2 separate regions of the Homo sapiens genome follow, and region 2 is linked to region 1. Evidence: promoter capture Hi-C in human tissues and cell types (Jung and others, 2019). All regions are on one chromosome and are shown on one strand. The core of a region is centred on a gene start or on the middle of the fragment in contact, and the rest is flanking DNA. Distances in the headings are between cores, read along the strand shown. Region 1 holds the start of SORBS1 (sorbin and SH3 domain containing 1). Region 2 overlaps ENTPD1-AS1 (ENTPD1 antisense RNA 1).

The links. Contacts are between HindIII fragments. The study calls those that stand out against the background at their distance.
Region 2: a fragment that was not itself captured here is called in contact with the fragment with the promoter of SORBS1 in region 1 in 1 of the 25 tissues and cell types used here (IMR-90 fibroblasts).

The regions. Positions count from the first base shown.
Region 1 is chr10:95,559,823-95,562,680 of GRCh38, forward strand. It overlaps SORBS1 (sorbin and SH3 domain containing 1), which reads right to left and starts at 1,549. Exons shown (of 33, transcript NM_001034954.3): 1 at 1,498-1,549. RefSeq lists an enhancer at 1,132-1,894 and silencers at 1,379-1,488, 1,529-1,898. The HindIII fragment of the contact is 4,090 bases long and covers 1-2,703 here.
Region 2 is chr10:95,894,884-95,897,837 of GRCh38, forward strand. All of the region lies in intron 2 of ENTPD1-AS1 (ENTPD1 antisense RNA 1), which reads right to left. Among named protein-coding and RNA genes, the nearest start is that of CC2D2B, 12 kb to the right of the region's middle. RefSeq lists a silencer at 1,296-1,496. The HindIII fragment of the contact is 3,110 bases long and covers 1-2,907 here.

The DNA.
Region 1 (2,858 bases), core at 299-2,798:
GTAGACAGCCATCTGCCTCATCGGTGTCTGAAGGCTGTAGATATGTCCATCATCTGTCTTCTGTCATTGATGCTGCTGACCCCTCTGTGTCCACCCCACTTTTAATCCAACCCTCCTCTCTTCGATCACCACCAAGATACCTTTCCAACCAAAACCACAGAATTGAATCTAAGCAGAGGAGCTCAAAACACAAGGAGAGTGAAGACAGCCAATCCATCCCCCGCCTCCACTTAAGAGGAAAAAAGGGCGCGGGGGGCTGGGCGGGGGGGGGGGTGTTGAGGGGAGAGATGGAGTCAGAGGCCTGACACGCCAGATAGGTTCCATGATGTCTCTAGATGAACCTCCCTCCTATTGACGATGAAACCAATTCCAGCAATTTCAGCAGGTCGGCCCTGTGACAACAGGGGCATCCCAACGCTCAGTGTTTAAAACAAAAATCCAAAGGCTCGCCCAGAACATGCTGGGAAAAACCGAGGACTGAACAAAACGAGCCATGCTCAGTGGGATCCCTTCTGCTTTTACGTAGCAATGTAATAGCGTAATAAATTCTTGTCTGCCTGGAGAAAGCATGCACTGGTGAATTTCAAAGCCATCTTACGACAGCGGATGCATGGGGATGCAGAATTCGACAGCACATTCCCCCATGAAGGAAACATAATGACTTCAAGCCTCTTTCCCCTCTATCTTGAATGGCGCTACCACGTATCAAGGAAGCCACATCGGAAAGCAGCGAGGTGGTAGCAGGGGATGCCCGGGGAATTCGGAGAAAGGAGTTGCTTGCTGTCCATGTCGGTGATGAGCTGCCTAGCAAGATGCTGTCAGCCACTCGGGGAGAAGAAGGGGCACGGGCGGCACGGGCAGGCGCCGTGTCCCCGGCGCATACTAGTCCCCGTTCATTCAGGCGGGTCCGGCCAACCGCGTCGTCCTTGCGCCCCTCCCGCCGCCCTCTCCAGGGGATGCTGATGAATGAACACACCTGAGATGCCTCCATCCCGCCGCTCGCTCCCTCCGCCTTCCTCTGGCTGCTGCAGAGGTGCCCCTCCTCGGTAGTTTCACTTTACAGCACAAACCCATTCGGGCTTTGATGTCTCCTCCACCCACCCAAATTGCAGCCACCCTGAGACGGGCGGACATTCTCTCCTAGCAGAGGCCATGATCGTACTACCCCACACCCACCAAAAAAGGAAATTTAAAAACCCCCAACCCTGGAAGCCCCCAGATCCTCCGCACCCTGGGGAACTTTCCTTGAAAGACTGGGGATTCGCCGAGCAGGCAGGATGGACGGTTCGGCCGCGAGGGACCACCGCTTTCCCTGTGCCCATGGGGGGATGCTCTGGGGGAGGGGGTCCCCCAAGTCCCTCCAACAGCTGGCCCTTTAAATGCGCCTCCTCCGAGCGCGGAACAAAGGCGCCGCCCGCGGGGGCCGAGCCGCGCACACCCCCGGCGCTGCCGCCGCCGAGCGGGCAAGCGCGGCCGGGCGGGCGAGCGCGGGCTTACCTTGCTGGTCGCCGGGCGGGCGGGCTGCGCGCGTCCGCCCCACTCGCACTACACGCTGCAGCTGGCCCCGCTCTGTTTTTCTGGGACTCAGCGCTGACTTCACCGACACTCCGCGGACAACCAATGGGCTGCGGTGCCCGCCCCCTCATTAGCATGCCTCTGGAACCGTCCACTCTGGCAGCGCCCGGCCAGCGGGCGGTGCCGGGGGCGGGGCCGGGCCCAGCCGTGACAGGAAGGGGCGTGTGCGCGGATGGGAGGCGAAGAAGTGTCCGGCGCCCGGCTCCTGGCATTGTGAGCCCGCCGGCCTCCGCCGGTAACGGGCGCGCGGGCCTAGTAACCCTTTCCGTCCTGGCCGGGCCGGACGCTGGCCTGGCGCGCCTTCTGGTCCTTCGGAAGGGTCGCCCACGGGGAGCTTGGAAGGAACCTTAGACGTAAAATAACAGTGATAAGTTATTTAACTCCTGGGCCTCAGTTTACCCATCTGTAAAATGGCATAATAGTCCGACTTCGTAAAATCTAGTGAAGATTAACATAGTTAACATAGGTGATGCATTTTGATCAGTTCCTGGCCGTCGTGCTACATAAACGTTTGCTGTTGTCATTCGTGTGCTCTGTACCAGCCAGTGTGCTTAATGCTTCCCGGATATTTCCTCATTTGATCCTCTTAGCCTGATAAGAGAGGAACGATTACTAATCCATATTTTTCTAGTGAGAAAACTGAAAATAATTACTATTTTTATGCAGGAAAACTGAGGTGTAGTTTAAGTGGCTTGTCCGAGGTCACACAGCAAGTGGTGCAACCAGGATTTGAACCCAGGCTCTGAGATTTCACTCATGCAACACACATATATTTAGAGGCTCTGTGGCAGTGCTGGACCCCAGTGTTAACTGCAGAGAACAAGACAGGCAAGGCCTTTTCCCTTAGGAAGCTTCCATTTTAGTGGAGACAAGTAAATAAATAAGATCCTCTACAATGTGAAAAGTAGAGTGCATACAATGCAACAAGGTCATTGCAAGTGGGGGGAAGGCACCGTGTTAGATGGGGTTCAGAGCTAACCACTGTGCTATGCCATTCTCCTGACCTCCTCTAGTCCCCCTCAGAGTTACAGAAAAGGAAACAGAGACAGGGATCAGAGTGGGGAATCTGCTGGCCCAAGGTCGCAGAGCCAGCAAGTACTGGTCTGGAACTTGCTCCCTCCATGCCCAGCTTCCCACATCCCTGAAGATAAGACACTCGCCCTTTGGGCTGAGCACAACTGATTTTTGTCAGCTGCCCTTGCAAGCATCTTCAGCCAGAGCACATTCTCAGTGAACAGGCTGTGGGTGGCAGGGTAAAGACTGGCCTTGATAACTGCACAGAC
Region 2 (2,954 bases), core at 103-2,602, 330 kb after region 1:
ATCACCACTAAAGAACTTCTGCACGTAAGCAAACATCACCTGTTCCCCAAAAACTATTGAAATAAAAAATATTAAAATGAATAAACATCATATATAATTTGGTTTATCCAGTAAATGACTAACTTTAAGAGAAATTCACAAATTGATTTTAAATGATTTAAATTTTTGTAACAAATTAGAATCCCTTATGCTTGATAAAACAATTAGTAAAACTAAGTAGAATCAAGTAATCTTTTCTGCATTTTAGTGTTCCTGATTCTTTTGAGCAAATATAGAAGGCCTGAAGACAATTTCATTTTAGAGTTTAAGAATTTTTCAGAATTTGTTTGATCCAAATCCCTCCATGTACTGGGGTCACTTGTGACAAGAAAAAAGAAAACCTTGACCATGGTCACATGGTAAGTCGGTAGCAGAACTAGACAAAAACTCAGCTCTCCTGATTTCTAATCTAATACTTTTTTCATTATCCCATGCAACCTCCCACATTTTCAGAACAGAAACAGAAAAATTAGAAGGAGAAAAGTAACCCAAACTCATAGGACTGTATCTTTTTTGGATTCCTACAAATACTCTTAAGCTTTGTTTCAGGAAGCAGTTACTTGGAAACAGTTTGATCCTTTCAGGTCTCGCTGTTAAGACTTATTAGGTAAGATCAGAGTAGTGTTTAGTCTAGAGTTCATTCCCCACTATTGAGACAAGGCCCTTCTGAACTCTACCCAGCATCCTGTGAATTATGAGGTTTTCCATAGATCAGAGTAGTGTTTAGTCTAGAGCTCATTATTCCTTACTATTATGAGGTTTTCCATAGATCAGAGTAGTGTTTAGTCTAGGGCTCATTATTTCCCACTATTGAGACAAGGCTCTTCTGAATGCTACCCAGTATCCTGTGAATTATGAGGTTTTCCATAACCTCATAATGGCTGGTGGGAAAAGTCCCTATTGCCAGCCCTAAGTGAGCTCCAAGTACTGTTCCTTCTAATCTTCTAGAGTAGCTCTTTCTCCAGCCTCAGGTACTTTCCTGAAATGCAGGGAAACCTTCTGCATTCCAGGAAAGTATCTGAGGGTTGGTAAAGAGTACCCTAGAATACTCTCCCTGGGCAGTACTCTCTTGTCCAGTGCTAGCTGCCTTGGTTTCCCAGGCGTCTCAGTTCTGTCCCCTTAACTTGGCAGTGACTTGCTCCATCATGATTCCCACTTTCTGCACCATGACCTGGAAACTCTCTCAAGGCAGCAAGCTGGAACATTTCTCAGAGATCACTGTCCTTCATTGCCTGATATCCAACTTCTTGGAAATTGTTGTTTCATATATTTTCTTCACTTTTTTTTTTGTTGTTTCAGGTGGGAGGGTTAATCTGGTCCCTGTTACTTCCTCTTATCTGAAAGCAGAAGTCCCAGTGGCGTCATTTTTTTTTTCTTACTCTGAAATCTTGGGTCTAACAACTCTCTCCTACTTTATGAATTGGCTAATAACAATTCCTTTTCTTTTAATAGCCTTTTCTTTTATCTGTTCTCATAATGAGAAGCACAATTAAATGCTTATAAAGCTTTGGTAAGAGGTACTTGGCAAAAATAAACAATTTAAGTATGATGACTACTGACAAAGACTCTCCTTAAGCAAAATTTAGTCAGGTTCCTTTGAGCCCATTCTCTACTAGGCCCGGTACTTGGGCCTTGTCCTCAAGAGCAAGAATCCTGTTAAGTCAGTTTTGTAAGAATCCCATCCTCATATCTGACCTCCTTCAATATCTGATCAAATTCCTCATCCTCCATTGCCCCCGAGGTGTTGTCTGATCATCCTGGCCTGCCTTCAGCAAGAATCCTGTTAGGTCTGTTTAACCAGAATTACCTCTTACCTTGATGTTTCCTCCTAGGAATTTTCCATCCACCGACCCCACTCTGTTCCTTGGTATGAATCCCCCCTTATTCTTCTTCTTTTCAGAACTGAGCACAGTTCTATACTCAAGTCCCTTACTTTATTCCAATAGTTCCTGAGTAAAATCTATTTTTTACTGCTTTCTTTACTGTCTAGCTCTGGTTTTAATACTATGTCTAATTTTACATAAAAATCCTTTATCACATATTCCACACTTTGAAACTCTAGCACTATCAACACCTAAGCTGAAAATGGTCTCTTATCCCTTAAAATTAAGGTTGTAAAAGTATTAAACTAAACAATAAAAAAAAAATCCACCTTGTTGTCATTGGCTCTAATTCTATATACTCCAAATACAAACAACTGTAGTGATTATGTCCCATTTAAGATTCTCTGCATTCCCTTTCCACATATTGGGAATTATTTCTATAAAGGCAGTAAGCAGGGTCAATGAAAACTTTAATCATTGCATTTTGGAGCCAAAGGGGACCTCAGAAAATCAATTTCTAATTGCTGTCTTTGTGGAGGTCAAAAACTGAAGTCTTGAAAGAATTTAACTGTCTTACTACTATATTATAGGAGACATGAGACTCAGTCATTATCCATCTTGAATTTTTAGTGATTTAAAATGTAGTATTATAGGCCGGGTGCGGTGGCTCACGCCTGCAATCTCAGCACTTTGGGAGGCTGAGGCGGGCGGATAACGAGGTCAGAAGATCGAGACCATCCTGGCTAACACAGTGAAACCTTGTCTCTACTAAAAATACATACAAAAAATTAGCCGGGCGTGGTGGCGGGCACCTGTAGTTCCAGCTACTCAGGAGGCTGAGGCAGGAGAATGGCATGAACCCGGGAGGCGGAGCTTGCAGTGAGCCGAGATCGCACCATTACACTCCAACTGGGGCGACAGTGCGAGACTCCATCTCAAAAAAAAAAAAAAGAAAGAAAATTTAGTATTACCATTGAACTCAACACTTGAAAAATGGTAGAACCATCCACATGCATAGTAAAACTACTATTTCCTTTGACTTAAATCTGGAACTTTAAAATATCAGACTTTAAAAGTGCATTAGCTTTTTAA